Regions from separate parts of the Homo sapiens genome. Here all the other regions are linked to region 7. The links are contacts of gene promoters, found by promoter capture Hi-C in blood cells and fetal thymus (Javierre and others, 2016). All regions are on one chromosome and are shown on one strand. Each heading gives the region's core, a stretch centred on a gene start or on the middle of the fragment in contact. The rest is flanking DNA. Distances are from core to core; before and after follow the strand shown.

Region 1 (2,756 bases), core at 211-2,710, 460 kb before region 7:
TCCACTCCTCCACAGGCAGAACTTCTCACTTCTTAAGACTCAGACCTTCAAAATCTAGGATGCAAACTCTAAGGGGAAAGTGATCTGTTTTGTTAGTAAAGAATCCCAAACACCTAGAACATTGCCTGGCACAAACTAAACCCTCAACACATATTTGTTCAAAGCCTTGATTGAGTAGATGAGCGAAATGTATCTTCTCTGTGAAGCACTCCTTGGTCTGCTCAAAGTACTTATGAAACCCTCTTGCATGTTTCCATTAGGGAATTAACAATTTAACCTCCAAAAAAAAAAGAAAAAAAAAAAAAACTAGCACCACCAAGCAAAACCCCAACATGCTGGAAACTATGACTTTGGAGAAAAGCTACACCAAGAACCGCAATTCTTGGTTCTGTGATTCAGAGTGGTTCAAAGTACAAGGGCACACAATTCTTTAAACTGACAACTAAAATAAATACATTCTTCTCTTGAGCACATAATCCACCTTCTACTGCAGTGATTCTCCAACGGGGCTGCACGTTTACAATAACCTGGGGAGCACTGAAAAATCTGGAAGCCCAGACCACACCTCAGCCCAATAAATCAGTTTCTCTGGAGTAGGAGGCAGGCCCAAGTATTTTAAAGCTTTCCAAGTAGTTCCAAAGTGCTGCCGAGTTTGAAAATTACCTCTCTACTTAACTTCAGGCCACGCGCCTGGAAGACTGCTAGGTCTTCGAGTTTGGGGGGAGTGGACTTCTAGAAAGACCTTCCAGACCTTCAAGGATGTAATGTTTTGTAGTCTCCTTCCACCAAAATTCCCATCCCCAACCTCTCAAGCCATGTGGAAGGGGCTTCACCGATTGCAAAGCGTGGCAGCCACCTACCTTAAGGCTGCAGGCTTCCTCCTCTAGAGAAGCCATTTCTTCCAAAGAGGCGTTGGCAGGACGCAGAGGGGATCCCCCTGAAGACAGGAACCCCCGAGTGTTCCGAATCAGGCAGCCTTTGGAGGCGGCCCCGCCCACACCAGGGCCCAAGAAATGTGGGGAGAAGGAGGAGGAGGAGTTATTTCTGCGGCGGGATGAGCCCCAGGATAACCTCCGCGAGCAAGCCACATCGTCCTCCTTCTGGGCTTTCAGGCGCTTGGGGCTGCTGGGCCCTCCAGAACGCGACGCAGACCTCTGAGCTGGCCGGCTGGAGGGGGCCACATCACAGGGCTCCCGGAGGCAGCTGCGCTTGCGGGGACACCCTTCCGACGTGCTGCTCCAGTTGTGCTTGACCTTGCCCCGCTCGGACGCCATGGGCACCTGCAAGGTACAGGGGGCCTGGATTCCAACACCACCCTTCCTGGCGACCCCACCTCAGATTCCCGCCACCCCGGGCCCAGGAGGACGGCAAGACATAAGGGCAGAGCCAGGGGCTAGCCTCACTGACCTTTCCCTCTTCTTTCCACTGCCCATCACAGTTCTCAAGGTTTCAGAGATGCCAAACCGTGTTGGAGAAGTCAAAGCGATCCAAAATTGACTAAAGGCTGCCGTCGGTTTCCAAGCCCACAACGTGCTTCTGAGATCAGGAAGCCTTCACTTTGCCCAGCGCTACTTCGGAGATGCCTAAGCGCTTCCGGGGCTACGAAGCGCTTTGATCAGTTTGCAATATAAAGCCCTTTAGAACTGTCAAGCGCTTCAGAAGACCACATGGCGCTTCAAGATCCACACATGGCTGCCGGATCCGCGGCCCCGGGGCCGGGCGCTTAGCCCGTAGGCCAGGGCCAGACCCGGGCGCCGCAGCCCGCCCTGCTCCTGCGGCCCAACCAGACCCGGGCCGGAAGGGGCCCGAGCGGCCCCTCGGGAGCTGGCAGCGCCCTCGACCGCCAACTCAGGACGCCCCCCGCCGGCTGCCGCAGCTGTCCCGCCGGGCAGCCCGCCGCCTGCCCCAGCCCTACAGCCCCGCCTGGCCCGGCCTCCGCCCGAACTGCGACCACTCCGGCCTCCGTGGCGCCCGCCCTCCGGAACGAGCCCTGCGGCCCGCAGGCCGGAGAGCGACAGGGGCGGGGCCTGCGCCAAACGGAAGGCGCCCATTGCTCGACCCGGCAAGGGGCGGGACTCCGAGCAAGACGCAGCCCGCCTCAAAGCCAGGCGCCTTGGAGTCGGGACGGTACGCCTTAGGAAGCTCGTCCATTGGTCAGAAGCCAGATGGGGCGGAGCCACTCACGTGGGCTCGAACAGCGGGAAGTTGAGGCCAGCCAGATGTGCAGGCAGGTGGTGTCCGCTGACGCGCCTCACTTAACGCTGTTTTCCTCAGCGCCGGCCGCTGTACCTGAAGCTTTCAGACCTGGATTTCTCATCGAGCCAAAGCAAACCGTGTACTGAGCATTATCACCCCACTTTATAGAGCAGAAAACTGTGGCTCAGAGAGACTAAGTACACACCCAGAAATGGGAAGAATTAGAATTAGAAGGCACCAAAAAAAAAAAAAAAAAGACTACACAAAAATGTGAACTATCCGCCTGGTGAAAAATATTAAAGACGGCTGGGCACGGTGTCTCACGCCTGCAATCTCAGCACTTTGGAAGACCGAGGCGGGAGGATGGCTTGAGCTCGGGAGTTAGAGACCAGCCTGGCCAGCATGGTGCGACCCCCATCTCTACAAAAAATAAAATTAGCTGGGCGTGATGCCAGCTACTCAGGCTGAGGTGGGAGGATCACTTGAGGCCGGGAGGTCGAGGCTGCAGTGAGCTGTGATCCCGCCACTGCACTCCAGCCTGGAGGACAGAGCAAGACCCT
Region 2 (2,755 bases), core at 118-2,617, 390 kb before region 7:
CTGTGGTACTAACCTTTCTAATAATCTAATCTCTGCTCCACCTTTCTGAGTTCTACTACTGACCCTCAGAAGAGGTTCTCTGCCAAATACAGAGAGCTCAAAGGCAAAAGTCAAATTAAGAGTCCTGCCTTCCCATCCAACTTACTGTTTCAGGTGGCTTCAAGGGAAGCTCCAGGTAAGCACATTAAATTGGGGGGTGAGGAGGCGAGGCTAAGCGCAGAAGCCAGGAAATAACAGACCAAACACTTCAGGGCTGAGAATTAAGATGTGTCTAGGCTGGATCTTCGGCTGTGATTACCACAGCAGAACTGATTAGAAGCCAAGAGAGCAGAAGCTTCTAGTTTTTTGACAGAACTGTGTTGCCAAAGAAACCACAGCTGAATCTGATAAAAGCTGGAGATTATTTGACTCCTACAGCTCCACTCAAGTCCCCAAACCCACACCAGCAGGAGGTGGTTTGTGAAAGCCAAGGAGCCCTAAATAAAAGCACATTCTTTCCAGTTCCGTTTCAGATAAGGCCACAGAGAATAATGAACGTGGAAGCTCCACTTCCCAGAAATCACGGAGGACCAGGTATCAGAGCAGTGTTTTGTTGTTGTTGTTGTTGTTGTTGAGACGGAGTCTTGCTCTGTCACCCAGGCTGAAGTGCAGTGGCACAATCTTGGCTCATTGCAATCTCTGCCTCCCAACAATCTCTGCCTCCTGGTTCAAGAGATTCTCTTGCCTCAGCCTCCCGAGTAGCTGGGATTACACGTGCCCACCGCCACCTCTGGCTAATTTTTGTATTTCCATTTTTATTTATTTTTGAGACGGAGTGTAGTCTGTCGCCCAGGATGGAGTGCAGTGGCACAATCTCAGCTCACTGCAAACCTCCACCTCCCAGGTTCAAGCAATTCTCCTGCGTCAGCCTCCCAAGTAGCTGAGATCACAGGCCTGAGCCACCACGCCTGGCCTAATTTTTGTATTTTTAGTAGAGACGATGTTTCACCATGTTGGCCAGGCTGGTCTTGAACTCCTGACCTCAAGTGATCCACCCACCTCAGCCTCACAAAGTGTTGGGATTACAGGTGTGAGCCACCGCGCCCAGCCAGAGCAGTGGTTCTTTTTTTTTTTTTTTTTTTTTGAGACGGAGTTTCACTCTTGTTGCCCAGGCTGGAGTACAATGGTGCGATCTTGGCTCACCACAATCTCTGCTTCCCAGGTTCAAGCGATTCGCCTGCCTCAGCCTTCCTGAGTAGCTGGGATTACAGGCATGCACCACCACGCCCGGCTAATTTTGTGTTTTTAGTAGAGACAGGGTTTCTCCATGTTGGTCAGGCTGGTCCCGAACTCCCGACCTCAGGTGATCCGCCTGCCTGGGCCTCCCAAAGTGCTGGGATTACATGCATGAGCCACCGCGCCGGGCCGAGCAGTGGTTCTTAAACTTCAAGGTGCATCAGAATCATCTGGGGAACTTAAGCCAGACTGCTGGGCCTCACCACTAGAGTTTCCGAATCAGCAGATGAGGTGGGGCCCAATAATTTGCGTTTCTAACAAGTTCCCAGGTGATACTGATGCTTAGGATGCTTCGCGAATCACAGATCACTGAGAACCAAGGGCTGCCAGATGGGCCAAGCAAAGAACTTACTCCTTTACCTGGGAATGGAGTTTTGGCCCGGCGCAGGGGCTCACGCCTGTAATCCCAGCACTTTGGGAGGCCAAGGCGGGCGGATCACGAGGTCAGGAGATCACCCTGGCTAACACGGTGAAACCCCGTCTCTACTAAAAATAAAAAAAAATAAAAAAATAGCCGGGCATGGTGGCGGGCGCCTGTAGTCCCAGCTACTCGGGAGGCTGAGGCAAGAGAATGGCGTGAACCTGGGAGGCGGAGCTTGCAGTGAGCCGAGATCGCGCCACTGCACTCCAGCCTGGGCGACAGAGCAAGGCTCCGTCTCAAAAAAAAAAAAAAAAAAAAAAAACACACAAAAACTCCACAAAAAAACAGGGAAGGGAGTTTTACAATTGCTCCTCTGCCAGATTTGTTGACTGCTATAGACAAGTAACTACCTCGTGTTTCTCATCTCAAGTAGGAGTTTTTTATTGTGGCTTCCTGTTCAAATTCCACCATGGAATTTGGGTGTGCTGGGGGAAGGGGATGCAGACAGCTTCTCTTTGGTTGAGAGGCCCTGGGTCACTGGGGCCATTAGAGAAGGCTACACATCACCCACACATACCAGATTTGCCCTAAAGGAAGTGACTGATTAGGCCCCCAGGCCTATCTCCCTTGTGGAAAGCAGATGTTTTATGCAGGTCAAGACAGGTGTATACAGATATCTGGGTGGCCAAAATGGACCGTGGCAGAAACTGCTAATGGTCCCTCCAATACTGATTGCCTCCTTTTCTAGAGTACTAGAAGCTTTAGTTGCACATAAAACCTTGCAACCAAAGATTACATTTCCCAGCCTCCCTTGCAAGCAGGTGTGGTTCTGTGACCAGGTTTGGCCAATAGCTTATGAGGGAAAGTAGGTGAGCAACTTCCTGGTCATGTCCTTAAAAGAAGTGGAGTGTACCCACCTTTTTCCTCTTTTTCCCTTCTTGCTGTCTGCGATGTGCATGTAGGGGCACAGAGGGGCCATCTCAGATGTGAGAAGTCTTGTGTCCACACTGGCAGAACAGTAAAGAAGAAAGAGCCTGGGCCACAAAACCACGGAGCTGCCACTTGAGCCCGGGGCAGCCTGGCAGTCACAGGAGAGGGAAACGAACGCCTGTCTTTTCT
Region 3 (2,818 bases), core at 161-2,660, 360 kb before region 7:
GGAAAACAGCTGCCCCAGAGGCACACTAGACCTTCTCAAAATCCTCCCTACTGCTTGGAGTTGCTCCACGCCAGGGTAATCCAGACCTGCTGGAACAGCCCTGATACGGTTTGGCTGTGTCCCCCCCAGATCTCATCTTGAATTGTAATCCCCATATATCATGGGAGGGTTTAATCAAATCATGGGAGGTAATTTTCCCCAGGCTGTTCTCATGATGGTGACAGAGTTTTCTTTTTTTTTTTTTTTTTTGAGACGGAGTCTTACTCTATCGCCCAGGCTGGAGTGCAGTGGCACAACCTTGGCTCACTGCAAGCTCCGCCTCCCAGGTTCAAATAATTCTCTGCCTCAGTCTCCCGAGTAGCTGGGATTACAGGCACCCGCCACCACGCCTGGCTAATTTTTGTATTTTTAGTAGAGACAGGGTTTCACCACCTTGGCCAGGCTGGTCGTGAACTCCTGACCTTGTGATCCACCCACCTCGGCCTCCCAAAGTGCTGGGACTACAGGCGTGAGCCACCACGTCTGGCCAATGGTGACAGAGTTTTCATGAGATCTAATGGTTTTATAAGCATCTGCCATTTCCCCTGCTGGCATTCATTCTCTCTCCTGCTGCCCTGTGAAGAGGTGCCTTCCACCATGATTGTTAAGTTTCCTGAGGCCTCCCCAGCTGTGAGCAACTGTGTCAATTAAACCTCTTTTCTTTATTAATTACACAGTCTTGGGTATTCCTTCATAACAGCATGAGAACAGACTAATACGAGCCCTTACCACAGTTCCTATCAGAGGTTTCTGAGCATGGAATAGCTACAACAAGAGTTCTCAAAATTCTTGGGTTGGGCCTAGGTAATGAACACCCTCCTACAAGGGAAGATCCATCAACTCATGTCACTCCCCATCAAGCAAATTGCTAAACTGTCCTTTGCCCAATTAAGTCTCCTCCAACTTATGTTAAGATGAAATGGTTCAACAGGACTTCCCCCAAGCCTTTCAGTAACCTCAGCTCTGTTATCAGCATCTGTGGGGCCAGCTCCAGGCCCCCAGGATTCAACTTTTCCCAATTGGAACGAAACAATCTTTCGTGTTTTTCCTTCTGACAGACAGGGAGAGAGATTACTGCCATTAGTTTGTATGTCAAACAGACTTATATTTTCCTGCGGTTTCATGTTTTGAATTTTGAAATAAGTTTTGTGGGTTTTTCTCCCTCTCATACATTGAGTGCTACTGCCCAATCCTTCTCATGACCATAATACGTGTACCTCAATTTTCTGTGACCTGCCAATGGACTACTGGGTATGTGTGGTAAGGGGTGGGGACAAGAAAATGTTTTGTTGGGGCAGGCAGTTTAGGTGTGCCGAAAGAAAGGGGAACAAGTTGAATGTCCCTCATTGGAAATGCTTGGGACCAGAGGTGTTTCCAATTTCAGATTTTTTTGTATTTTGGAATATGTGCATATATATGAGGTATCTTGAGGATGGGACCCAAGTCTAAAGGCGAAATTCATTTACCTTTCTGTTTCAGAAAAACTGTTTTTCCTCTAGATTCCACACTAACACAATACCAACCCAGAACACTTTCGTGTCCAAATGTGTAGATTTCTTCCCGAGAGCGAGCAAGCAATCAATTCTGCAGTGAACACCAATTAGGTATCCTCTAATTCACTTCCAACACCATCTTTCTGGAAATAATATCAGATCCTGCAGGTTGAGGCCTCAGTCCCCAAGACTGCCCCCACCCACACACCAGTAGCAAGTTTAGGGCTCCAGAACTTCTGACCAACCAGCTTCAAGTTGGGGTTCCCACCACCTTCGCTTTGGGTTTAATTTGCTGGAGTGGCTAACAGAACTCAGTGAAAAATGTTTACCAGTCTTTTTTTTTTGAGACAGCAGGTCTTGCTCTGTCTCCCAGGCTGGAGTGCAAACTGAACAGCTGGGACTGCAAGCATGCGCCACCACTCCTGGTTGTTCTTTTTTTTTCTAGGAGAGACAGGATCTCACTATGATGTTATCTTGAACTCCCAGGCTGAAGCAATCCTCCTACCTCAGCCTCCCAAAGTGCTGGGATTATATGTGTGAGCCACCACGCCCGGCCTACCTGGTTTATCATAAAGGATATTACGAAGGATACAGATGAAGAGATGCGTACACCAAGGTATGGGATAAGGGGCGCAGAGCTTCTGTCCCCTCCCTGGGCGCACCACCCTCCAGGAACCTCTACACGTAGTTCAGCTATCCTGACACTCTCCACTGTCCTCATGGGTTTTAACGAGGCTTTATGATGTCACCATTCCTTCCCCCAGGGTATGGGGTAGGACCTTCTCTGAAATGAGGGTTGTAATCTCACCTGTAATCCCAGGGCTTTGGGAGGCCAAGGTGGGAGGATCGCTTGAGCCCAGGAGTTAAAACCAGCCTGGGCAACACAGCGAGACCCCATCTCTACAAAAAACTTAAAAATTAGCCAGGCAAGGTGGCTCACATCCGTAACAAGGGCTATGGGAGTTATGAGCCAGGAACAAAAAAAGAAAACATATACATCATAACACCAGTTTCATAAACACCTTACAGACAAAGGCTGAAGGTAATTGTAAGCAATATTTTCCACAGTTTTGCACGTGAAACAAGTTTGTGTTAAGTACTCACATGTGGAACTTTCCACTTGTGGCGTCACGTTGGGACTCTTGGATTTTGGAGTGCTTTGGATTTGGAATTTTTGGATTAGGGATACTCAGTCTGTATTGAAGGGGTATCAGGAAGCCAATGACTAGCAGAGCGTGGGACTGAGGTGCTAAGAAGAGGATACAAAGACCCAGGGTCAAAGTATC
Region 4 (2,700 bases), core at 74-2,573, 410 kb before region 7:
TGAGGCCTGCTCCTGCGACACATGAGGGCTATTAGTTGGGTTTATTTATCCCTGTGGTCTTGGGGAAAAGAAATGGACTCTGGTCTGGAAAATCAGACAGGACCCACCAGCCATTACTCTCCATCTCTCCCTACCCAGCCCTCCCCTCCTCTGGGGTCTAATCGGATTGGCTCCTCGTGCCTAGGGTAGTTATCTGTGGTAGGAGAAACTCACAACCATAATCTTTAAAGGCCCCCACTGTATGTCCAAGGGCAGAGAGAGGAGAATGAGAAGGAATTCTCCAGCTATCAAGGATATGAAAATCTCCCTGGATTCCATACAAACTAATCAGAAGTTGGCCATGGGTGGATCATTACTGAAGCCAGCTGATGGGGACATGGAGGGTCATTATGCTCTTGGCTTTTGTATGTTTGTAATTTTTTCATATAAAAATGTTTTAAAATAATGGCTAAGGGAGGGGAGGGAGATGGGGCAGGAGAGTAGATGAACAAGATGGGATACTTGTTGGGTGATAGTGATAGATGGGGCTTGGGGCTTCTACATAATCTTGTTTCCAAGAGTGAGGCACAGCTAATCAGAGGTCAGATCAAGTGCCAGGACTTAGCTAAAAAACAAACCATTTCCTATGGAAATGCTTCCAGAAGCTTTCTTTTTCTTGCTTTTCTTTTTTGCTCTGTTTTGTTTGTTTTTGTTTTTGAAACAGAGTCTTTCTCTGTCACCCAAGCTGGAGTGCAGTGGCGTGATCTCGGCTCACTGCAACCTCCGCCTCCCAGGTTCAAGCAATTCTCCTGCCTCAGCCTCCCAAGTAGCTGGGATTACAGGCGCCTGAGACCATGCCTAGCTAATTTTTATATTTTTAGTAGAGATGAGGTTTCACCATGTTGACCAGGCTGGTCTCGAACTCCTGACCTGAGGTGATCCGACTGCCTTGGCCTTTTTGTTGCTATTCTACTGAGGCTAATATGCCTGCTTTCTCAAGCAAAATGCACCACCTCTGGTCCTGCCGAGCTGTGTCATTGCAGGTACAAGAATTGCAGAAGCAGCGGCACTGTATCTGACATGGGGTCTTCTATGTCCTGCCCTGATGCTGGCAGCGGGTCTACCCCCAGCTGCCCCATCTCCTTTATTAGTATCAAACAGAATTTGGCTCAAGCGCTGGCTCCAGCACTACTCAAGATCTGACCTCAGATGAGCTGTGCCTCACTTATCTGAGCTTTCTCAAATGTAAAAAGAGCAATAATGGTCTGTTTCTTGTCCAGGTAAAAAGAGCTGATGTTTATAGAGCACAAAGGTCAGGCTGTGACACATGCAGTACTTGGTATTTTACCAAGGCTGGTGAAACTATGTGTAGAGTAAGTAAACAGATTCTGACTGATAGCCCAGTGGCCTCTCCTACAGCTAAGGCTTTGTAACAGTTATTTCAGCTGCTCAAAACCCTTTCATCTGAATTCTAGCTTCGAGACTGCTTTGCCGAGGTGCTCATAGCCTATCCATGGCTCCTCTGCTCACATATTTTCCTCCTCAGCCAGGCGCGGTGGCTCATGCCTGTAATCCCAGCACTTTGAGAGGCCGAGGCAGGTGGTCAAGAGATCAAGACCATCCTGGTCAACATGGTGAAACCCCGTCTCTACTAAAAATACAAAAAATTAGCTGGGCGTGGTGGCGCGCACCTGTAGTGCCAGCTACTCGGGAGGCTGAGGCAGGAGGATCACTTGAACCCAGGAGGCAGAGGCTGCAGTGAGCCGAGATCGCGCCACTGCACTCCAGCCTAGTGATAGAGCGAGACTCTGTCTCAAAAAACAAAACAAACAAACATATTTTCCTCCTCCATGTCTCTTCCCACTTCCTTCCCACCTACTGCAAGGGGGAGCCAGGGTATCACAGGGATCAAGATGTGGGCTCAGTATACTTCACTCCTACCAAAATCCTTTAAGATAATTGATGAGTTTGAACTCTGGGGCTCAGTGGAACCTTGGGGTTTTCCCGAAAGAAGACAAGCTTTGGGTGGTTTGATGAAATGAATGATTTCTTATTTTCAATTTAGGCAAAGATAGACAATCAACTTCCTGTCTCTGCCTGCAAATTGTAGTTATCATCTTGACCTGCCTGGGCACATTTGCTCCAAGTGCCATCAAGAAAGCAAATAGGGGCTGGGTGCAGTGGCTCACGCCTGTAATCCCAGCACTTTGGGAGGCCAAGGCAGGTGGATTGCTTGAGCCCAGGAGTTCAAGACCAGCCTGTGCAACACAGCGAAACCCCATCTTTACAAAAAATACAAAAATCAGTCAGACGTGGTGGTGCGTGCCTATAGTCCCAGCTACTCAGGAGGCTGAGGCAGCAGGATCGCTTGAACCCGGGAGGCAAAGGTTGCAATGAGCCGAGATTGTGCCACTGCACTCTAGCCTGGGTGACAGAGATTCCATCCCACTGCCAAAAAAAGAAAGTAAGTAAATAGGGCTCTGTGCAGTGGCTCATGCCTGTAATCCCAACACTTTGGGAGGCCAAGGTGGGAGAATCGCTTGATCCCAGGAGTTCGAGACCAGCCTGGGCAACATAATGAGATCCCATCTTTACAAAAATAAAAAATTAGCCGGCCGTAGTGATGTACACCTGTAGTCCCAGCTACTTGAGAGGCTGAAGTGGGAGGATTGCTTCAGCCAGGGAAGTTGAGGCTGCAGTGAGCTATGACCGTGCCACCGT
Region 5 (2,827 bases), core at 50-2,549, 410 kb after region 7:
ACTCCAGCCTGGGTGACAGAGCAAGACCCCCGTCTCAGAAAAAAGGGAAACAAACTGAAAACATGATTGTAATGCAGAGAACTGCAAAAGACAACTTTAAAAACAATGCTGAAGCAGTAAATTACATAACCGATGATACAAAAATTTAAGTTGCTGATAAAACATACACTGGAGAAAAACAATACTAAAGAATAGATAATGGGGTGATGTATCTGAAGAATAAAGTTTGTAAAACTAGTAATAACAGGAGGCCTAAAAGAAAAACAGATAGTAAAATTGGCAAATATATAGGTAATTGTTTCAAGATGAAAAACCAAAAGGAAAATATGTGCCATGCTATATAAAACAAGACTAAGAAAAAAGTTAAGATAAAAAATATAGATGACAGAAGACAGAATGAATAATAATAAATACAAAGGATTTAAATCCTCCTCATTAAGGCAAAGCAACTGGTTTAAGAAACAAAATAATGCACAGGCTAAGAACTGAAGATAAGTCAAAGGTTATCAGCAGAAATTAAGGATTTAATTGACATTTAATGAAGAATTTAAGAAAAAAATGCAATAAAAGCAATCATTACATAATTTTTAAAAGTACACATAAAATATGTATTATAACCGCATACCAATAACTGCACAAAACAAAAGGCAAAAAATATTAAAAACCAAAGTAAAATGGATAGAAATGTACAGGTTGAGGCCGGGCACAGTGGCTCATGCCTGTAATCCCAGCACTTTGGGAGGCCAAGGTGGGCAGATCATGAGGTCAGGAGATTGAGACCATCCTGGCTAACATGGTGAAAACCCGTCTCTACTAAAAATACAAAAAAAAAATAAGCCGGGCATGGTGGCGGGTGCCTGTAGTCCCAGCTACTTGGGAGGCTGAGGCAGGAGAATGGCGTGAACCCGGGAGGCGGAGCTTGCAGTGAGCCGAGATCAAGCCACTGCACTCCAGCCTGGGCGACAGAGTGAGACTCCGTCTCAAAAAAAAAAAAAAAAAAAAAAAAAAAAAAAAAAAAAAAAAGTACGGGTTGAACAGACAGTGTAGGTACAAACAAGATAAAATATTCAGAAGCTAGAAAGGTACGTTTGTTTAAATGTTTATCAGTTTTAATTAAAAAAAAAAAAGACTGGCCATATACTAGGCTCATTAAAAAAAACCCTCAATAAATATGAAACAACCATTCAAAATTAATTCATCACAATAAATCAGTATTTAAGAAAATTGAAGCCTTCCAACTACTTGTCTTAATACACGTAAAAGGATTTAATGTTGATACATAGACCAGCAGCATCAGCATTGTCCTGGAGTTTCCTGGAAAATGCAGACTCTTAGGTCCCATCCCAAACTACTAAATCAGATCTGTGTTAACAGTACTCCTAGGTGATTCACATGTACATTAATGTTTGAGAAGCACTGTCCTAAAAAATTAGATCAGAGAGACAATGAAATATATAACCAATGACTTAGTAATAAAATAGAGGCGAGGCTATATAAACTGCAGTATTTCTATACGATGGAATTTATGTAGTGACTTTAAAGACTATGGTCCAGGTGTGGTGACTCGTCTCTAATCCCAGCAATTTGGAAGGCTGAAGCGGCAGAATCTCTTGAGGCCAGGAGTTTGACACCAGCCTGGACAAAACAGCAAGACCCCCATCTCTACGAAGATTTTAAAAAATTAGCTGGGCATGGTGGCACATGCCTGTATTCCTAGCTACTAGGGAGGCCAAGGCAGGAGGATTGCTTGAGCTCAGTAGGTTGAGGCTACAGTGAGCCATGATCATGTCACTGCACTCCAGCCTGGGTGACAAAATGAGACCCTGTACCCAAAGCAAAAAAGAAGCCTATGTAAAAATATACTGTTTAAAATTTTGTGAAATTAAAATGAGTCTATAAAATATTCTTCCAATATGTAGGGGAAAAGACATATGAATAAGACAAATGAAAAATTGCATATGGTGGGGAAATTATCGCTAAAATAATATTTTAAAAATATAACTTATTTTCAATAAACTTTAAAAATGTAAATGGAGTCTCATAGTATATTCATTTTGGTTACAATGACGTCACAATGCACTGGGAGTTTTAATTCATAAAGTCAATATAAAAAGTGATTCTCTAACTCTAAAAGATGCTAAGAAATCTTTTAAATTTTTACCCTTCTTTAATTTGGCTCTTGGTCAATAAAGATGCAATGTTATTTGCTGCTCTATTCACAGCCAGTGGATTATTATCACCAGCAATATGGAAACAGTCAGACCATTCAGTGGCCCCCTAAAAGATAAGAGTGTATGTTAAAACAAAAGTAGCAAACTGTAAAATATGATTAAATTGTCAACAAACAAAGAAAATCCAGTGCTTTTCTAGAGTGGCAAAACATTGCATGTTGTCAACTGTGCTATTTCCCTGGCTGAAAATGCCCTCTTATTCTTTCTCTGCTTGCTGAACCTCTACCCATCTCTTAAGACCCAGCTCAAACCTCATGCCCTTTCAACATCAACCTTAACTCTCCAAGCAGTCTTATGTGCCCCTCCCAAAAACACTTTGTATGTACGTACCTCTGCCACTGCACTTGTCCCACGGTTAATTATTTCTTCCCCTTTATGCCTCTCAACTAACCTGGGAGCTCTCTGAGGTCAGGTCTAGTATTTTATTCAGTTCCTCATCCAGCAGTGTCTGGCACACTAAATTCTAAGTTAATGCGGTTTGAAAATATTTGAGATTTGTGGTTGTGGGAGTTTACATAATCTGATATATTTGAAAATTGCAAAATAAAATGCTATTTCCGGCCGGGCATGGTGGCTCACACCTGAAATCCCAGCAC
Region 6 (2,780 bases), core at 151-2,650, 350 kb after region 7:
TTATCTGCCCACCTCAGCCTTCCGAAGTGCTGGGATTACAGGCATGAGCCACTGCGCCCAGCCGCTTTCACATCTTATAGCTGTTTCCAGCTCCACCAGAGAATTAAAATTCCTTAGCCAGTAAGTAAAGCTCTGTGGATTTTCTTGCTTTATTTGATGTGGTTGCTCTGAGTAATGAATTCTAGAAATGTCTAGATCCTCTCATAAAACATTACTCACTAAAATCTAAAAAAACTGCAACCAAATAGCTTAGTTAGGCCTAACAACATCTACTTCCACCGTATGGCAATCTCTTTAATATAACTACACTTGATTTTCTTATCCAGTCTAGCTTTTTCTCCTTAGCAAATGCTAACTTGCTCTTTTCTATTTCTGCCTTCTCTAAAGAAAACTCTTTCCTTGCGCCCATTTTGTCGTATAAAAGCACCATTACTTTTGTTTTTCACCTCCCACGATGAAATATCACGACTATTATCTACAGACCTTTATCTGAGTGAAGTTTTCACACTGCTTCTTCAGTAAGCTTGTCATTTGATGGTTCCAGTCAAAGGGAAGTTGCTACAGATATCTTACCTCTGCATTTGGTGTACATGATCTTCTGATGAACCGAGCATCATTACCGAAAGTACGGGCATCCACACACATCTCTACACCATTGAATTTTGAGTAGAAGAGCACAAAGGGGTATGGTCTAGGGATACAATTAAAATTCCTGTAATTCTCAACACAAATAAGAAGGCCACCCCATGACTCCAAATATGAAGCATATGCTGAGAGAAGCAGCAGCAGTCTTTTGCAACGCCTAAACTTGGGAAAGCATCACGTTTGTCTGCTTTTGATTAAAGAACAAGCACAAAGCAAGGAATGCTTGGCTTGGAAAGGAGGTGTCACCATTTTATACATTGAACAATTTGAAGATTTACTTGCACTTCTCTACAAATAGCAGACAGGTGTGAGCTTATCTGAGTTGTGATTTTTTTCTCCCAAGAGCGTCTTATCAAACAGAATGATTTTTACAACAACACTGGTCAACCAGGTCCACCTTAGCCCTCACTGCTCAATGAATGACGTTCTTACTTTTTGAAGAAATGCCCATTGACCTCAAATTGCTGTCGTAACATGACTTTCCCACGATACTCTATTATAAGAGTGTCCAAAGCCAAATCTCTTGCAGCCCTCAGGATCTTCCGGTGCTTTTGAACACGAGTGACTCTTCCCAGCTGTAACTGAATAAAACCAGAGCAATAACATTAAACAACAGCAAGAACACCTTAGTAGACACTCAAATTACTTCATAATTAAGGAAAACATGCTAATATTTTCAGGTTTTATCTGTACATGTTATTTAGATCAATGATGAGAAATTTTAAAATGTGATGAAAGCTCAATTTTTCTAAGAGACATGCTACATCTAGTGAAATTGCCTCCCCAGAAACGGCAAGAAAATATTAAAAAAAAAAAAAAAATACATGATTAAGACTTCAGTGACTCTATCTCTAAAATAAAGATGAGAAAGAACATGCTTAACTTTCTATAAATATTACATAATTCCTACCTAGGGTATATAGAATTTCCCATACTAAGTCATCTCTCTCTCTGTTTTTTAAATAGAGCCAGGGTCTCACTCTTTCATTCAGGCTGGAGTGCAGTGGTGCAATCATAGCTTACTATAACCTCAAATTCATTCAAGTGATCCTTCCACCTCAGCCTCCCCAGTAGCTGGGACTTACAGGTGTGTATCATCACAACGGCTTTTAATTTTTTTTTTTTGTAAAGAGAGGGTCTCACTATGTTGTACAGGCTGGTCTTGAACTGCTGGCCTCAAGCAATCCTTCCACCTTGGCTTCTTGCCAAAGTGTTGTATTATAGGAGTGAGCCACTGCACTGCACACAGCCTCAATTCATCTATTTTTTTATTAATAAAGGTAGTTTAAAAATATGTATCCAGGTAGTTTCCAGTTAATATAACCTACTTTTGGTTACATATGATCAACACCTGGCTAATCTGTTATTCCATGGCCTTGTACATTTGGAAGGAACAGTAATTCCAATCCATTACCCTCTTCCTGGGTTCTTAAAATTTCAGCTACTTAGAGAGTCCTCAACCCTTTGGTGCTTACCTGCATTTGGGAACCAATAACTGTGTTATTACAGGCCAATTCAGTCTTATTAATAGTGTCTAAAATAGTAGGTTTGCCCACAAATTCCTTGCTAGAATGTAGGTGTTGTTCAAGCGCGTTCTGTACATCTGCACTGTACTGATTAGTGAAAGCTTCTTCATACTGGTCAGTCCATAGTCTTATCCGATTTTCCCAGCCCTCAGTTGTATTCTCATCTAAATTCTGTGCTTCAGAGGGAGAATTCTGTAGAAAACAAATTCAGGGAGGTTAGTAAAGTCCATGCATAAATAGAGGGTTGGGAATGGGGGTGGGACAAGCTGGGGTTCCAGAGAAAATTTATCACTTGGCAATTGATGTGGCATAAAAGAGTAATGGACTGGGAGTCAGAGGATCTGGTTTCTATCATGCTTTTGTTACCAATGAGAGGTGAGACCTTGAATAACTTCTTTAAATGGGGAAGCTCAGTTTCTCCATTTATAAAGTAAGAAATTAATCTGGATCATAGTTTCATCCCATCACTGTGATTTTATGACCATTTTAAAGTCATAAAAATCAATTTTCTAATCAAAGGACTGACATCAAGTTCATAAGAAAATCTTCATACAAATGAACAGTAGAGACCTCAAATTTATCACTGCTTAAATTTTTCATACTCACTGA
Region 7 (2,700 bases), core at 15-2,514:
GAAAAAGGGAGGACTTCCAGGAAGGGAGGGATGAGCAGTATCACAGCTAACATACACTAAGGCTGACACAGTTCAGTTCTGACCAGGAAGGGCCTGAATGGAAGCAACACGAGAGATCCTCCAATGGGGTGGAAGCAGGGCTGGAGGTACCAAGAATGGGATAAGGAAGTGTGGCCGCCTGCCTTAAGCAACTGTAGGGTCAGGAAGGCAGAAGAGGACAAAGGGCGTATGTCGTGAAGTTCCACTGTGGATAGGCAGGTGGACTTGCTTCATGCCTCAGAGGCTAAGAGGCCGACTACGTACCCTCGAAATGCTCCAAAGAGCCTAGGAGACCCCACTTCCGGGTTCCTACAGGGCTCAGGAAAAGCCCCTACCTGCTTCGAAGGCTGACCGTGAAGCCACAAGGCCCACTTCATACCAGGGAGTACCCCCACTCGCCCCTTCCTCACCTCGGGCCCCCGCCCCGTCTCTTTTTCCCACCCTCATCGTGTCCCCACAACCCCCGGACATCCCTCGGCCCCGCGCCCCTGCGGCAAAGCCACATCTCCCACCGACCCACTGCCCTGAGGCCGAACAGCCGGGGGTCCCTGGCCGGGGGCCCGGCTCTCTCACCATCGCGGGCGCTGGCTGGGCCGGAAAGCGGAAGTACGGAAGTGGCCAGCCCCGCGATGCCTGCCCTTTCGCGAGAAGCGCAGCTACGGTCTCCGCCCGGACTTCCGGACGGTACCATCTATGCTCCGAGCGGGGTAGAGAGCCCTTACGAACGCTTGGGCCTTCCGGAAGTTTTCCACCTAGGGCTGTCTCGGTATTTTTAAATTCTTGCACTCGAGTCACTATTTAAGCTCCTCCAGGAATGGGTGCAGCTTCCCTTTGTGCCTTCGGCCTTCTTGTCACCTTTGCCACAGCCTCCCCCAGGTATGCAATGGTACAGCCCAGCTTCAGATTGGGCACCAAATTAGGACAAGCCGAAGCGGACGAGCCCTTCGTTTCTTCCGGTTCTGTACCCCCATCCTTTCTCTCGCCCCTCCTACCCGCAGCTCCTGGCGCTCGGCGGGGCTAACTGCAGCGCGGAGATCTCGGCCGCCAAGCTCCGCCTCCCGCCCCGGGCTGTGCCCCGGGGCTCGCCTGAGGCCGACCACCCGCACCCCACCTCTAGCGGCTTTGCTCGAGGCCCACCTTCTTCCCACCCCCGGCAAACTCCAGTAGGCTCGCCCTCGCTGACTCCCCGCCCCCGCGTCAACTGCAAGGGGCCCGCCCATAGCCAGTTCCGGGGCGGTTGCTCACATCGACCGGAACTCCCCGCCCCCTCCCGCGGCCCCTGGGGCCGTAGGAGGCCGCAGCGAGGAGGTAGAGGGGGCGGGGGTCGCACTAGGGTGTCCCTAGAGAACGAGGACTCTGAAGGCGGGACATTTGGGCGACCCCCGGGCGGGGCCAGCCATTAAACAGTCCCACTTCTGTGCCAGACACTGAACTGGGCTCTTGACGGGCATCATCTCTTAATCCTCAGAACATCCCAGGGAGGTAGGTACTATTGTTATCCCCATTTTTCAGATTCAGACTTTTAATGGGGAAACAGACCGAGACTTCTTTTGTCCCCATTTTACAGATGGAAAAACTGAGACTGAAAAAGGTCAAATAACATGTTCAGGGGCATATAAGTAGAGAATGGTAAAGCCTGGGCTTGAACCCAGGTCTGTCTGGCTTACCAGCCCACGTTCTAAACCACTGTTAGTGACTAGAGAAGGGAGAAAGGTGGAATAGGGTAAGAAAAGAGGCCAAGAGTCCCAGAGAACATGGTAAGAATGGGGTGCTTGGAACTCAAAGTCTTAGCAGAACCCAAGAGAAATAGAAGGGAAGGAAAGAGCATCAGAAAGGCGAGGCAAGGCATAGCAGTATAGCATGGTGATCAGGGTGCAGACTCAAGACTAGCGGGGTTCAAATTGCATCTTGGAAGCATAGGCACATACCCACCCTTACAGAGTCTCAGTTTCTTTCTCTGTAAAAACGAGATCACAATGGTCCTTGTTCATGGTGCTGAGTGAGAAATTCAGTGAGATAAACTGATAAAGTGCTCTGCACCTAGCTTGGTACCCAGTTAAGTGCCCTGTGAGTAGGAACTGTGCCATCAATTTTGTCAGTAAGGGACTGAAGCTGGGCTTCCTTGAGGCTGTCCCTGGAGGTAAGAAGCCCTTGGGCTTTTCTCAGACCACTTTGTCTCCCATCAATGGCCCTGTCCTCTCCAGCTCCACAGGATCCCCATATCCTGGGCCATGAGTGAGTTGAAAGACTGCCCCTTGCAGTTCCACGACTTCAAGTCTGTGGATCACCTGAAGGTCTGTCCCCGCTACACGGCAGTGCTGGCACGCTCTGAGGATGATGGCATCGGCATCGAGGAGCTGGACACCCTGCAGCTGGAGCTGGAGACCCTGCTGTCTTCTGCCAGCCGGCGCCTGCGTGTGCTTGAGGCCGAAACCCAGGTGATAACCCCAGAGAGGGGCCAGCACCAGAGATGGACTGCAACAAGTTATGGGATGGGTCATTGAGTTAGCCCCATATGCTGAGACTTGGGGTACAGGGGTTTGTGGGGAGAGGGAGAGAGACGCAAACTGGGTTTGCATGACACAAAAAATACACAAGAATATGCATGATCCTCTTAAATTGCAAGATTTCTAATTCAGTAAGCTTTTATTGGCACCCCAC

What was found. The method cuts DNA at HindIII sites, captures the fragments that hold promoters and counts their contacts. A CHiCAGO score of 5 or more calls a contact.
Region 1: a fragment that was not itself captured here is called in contact with the fragment with the promoter of TADA3 in region 7 in 13 of 17 cell types (monocytes, total CD8 T cells, naive CD8 T cells and 10 more); the score reaches 13.0 in monocytes.
Region 2: a contact is called between a fragment that was not itself captured here and the fragment with the promoter of TADA3 in region 7, in 4 of 17 cell types (monocytes, naive B cells, activated CD4 T cells and 1 more). The highest score is 7.4, in monocytes.
Region 3: a fragment that was not itself captured here is called in contact with the fragment with the promoter of TADA3 in region 7 in 1 of 17 cell types (monocytes); the score reaches 7.0 in monocytes.
Region 4: a fragment that was not itself captured here is called in contact with the fragment with the promoter of TADA3 in region 7 in 8 of 17 cell types (activated CD4 T cells, naive CD8 T cells, total CD4 T cells and 5 more); the score reaches 8.4 in activated CD4 T cells.
Region 5: a contact is called between a fragment that was not itself captured here and the fragment with the promoter of TADA3 in region 7, in 2 of 17 cell types (neutrophils and total B cells). The highest score is 8.3, in neutrophils.
Region 6: a fragment that was not itself captured here is called in contact with the fragment with the promoter of TADA3 in region 7 in 1 of 17 cell types (neutrophils); the score reaches 5.1 in neutrophils.

What each region holds. Positions count from the first base shown.
Region 1 is chr3:10,247,719-10,250,474 of GRCh38, reverse strand. It overlaps TATDN2 (TatD DNase domain containing 2), which reads right to left and starts at 2,016. Exons shown (of 8, transcript NM_014760.4): 1 at 1,408-2,016; 2 at 861-1,280. The coding sequence starts at 1,274. RefSeq lists an enhancer at 580-1,448 and a silencer at 1,701-2,130. The HindIII fragment of the contact is 1,674 bases long and covers 624-2,297 here.
Region 2 is chr3:10,183,927-10,186,681 of GRCh38, reverse strand. The region is part of intron 2 of IRAK2 (interleukin 1 receptor associated kinase 2); the gene reads right to left. Among named protein-coding and RNA genes, the nearest start is that of IRAK2, 20 kb to the right of the region's middle. RefSeq lists enhancers at 335-835, 836-1,336. The HindIII fragment of the contact is 2,061 bases long and covers 337-2,397 here.
Region 3 is chr3:10,154,419-10,157,236 of GRCh38, reverse strand. No RefSeq gene overlaps it. Among named protein-coding and RNA genes, the nearest start is that of IRAK2, 9.1 kb to the left of the region's middle. The HindIII fragment of the contact is 8,341 bases long and covers 1-2,818 here.
Region 4 is chr3:10,202,745-10,205,444 of GRCh38, reverse strand. All of the region lies in intron 3 of IRAK2 (interleukin 1 receptor associated kinase 2), which reads right to left. Among named protein-coding and RNA genes, the nearest start is that of IRAK2, 39 kb to the right of the region's middle. The HindIII fragment of the contact is 1,354 bases long and covers 647-2,000 here.
Region 5 is chr3:9,379,953-9,382,779 of GRCh38, reverse strand. It overlaps THUMPD3 (THUMP domain 3 tRNA guanosine methyltransferase), which reads right to left. Exons shown (of 10, transcript NM_001114092.2): 7 at 2,162-2,277. Among named protein-coding and RNA genes, the nearest start is that of THUMPD3-AS1, 15 kb to the left of the region's middle. The HindIII fragment of the contact is 6,287 bases long and covers 1-2,827 here.
Region 6 is chr3:9,440,039-9,442,818 of GRCh38, reverse strand. It overlaps SETD5 (SET domain containing 5), which reads right to left. Exons shown (of 23, transcript NM_001080517.3): 8 at 2,121-2,363; 9 at 1,078-1,226; 10 at 574-691. Among named protein-coding and RNA genes, the nearest start is that of SETD5, 44 kb to the right of the region's middle. The HindIII fragment of the contact is 1,749 bases long and covers 526-2,274 here.
Region 7 is chr3:9,791,037-9,793,736 of GRCh38, reverse strand. It overlaps TADA3 (transcriptional adaptor 3), which reads left to right and starts at 1,264. Exons shown (of 9, transcript NM_006354.5): 1 at 1,264-1,521; 2 at 2,244-2,477. The coding sequence starts at 2,271. It overlaps ARPC4-TTLL3 (ARPC4-TTLL3 readthrough), which reads right to left and starts at 1,189. Exons shown (of 12, transcript NM_001198793.1): 1 at 613-1,189. The coding sequence starts at 615. It overlaps ARPC4 (actin related protein 2/3 complex subunit 4), which reads right to left and starts at 655. Exons shown (of 6, transcript NM_005718.5): 1 at 613-655. The coding sequence starts at 615. It also overlaps a transcript of OGG1 not described here. RefSeq lists enhancers at 1-79, 279-805, 780-879, 806-1,332, 2,437-2,700 and silencers at 1,010-1,299, 1,360-1,449. The HindIII fragment of the contact is 10,858 bases long and covers 1-2,684 here.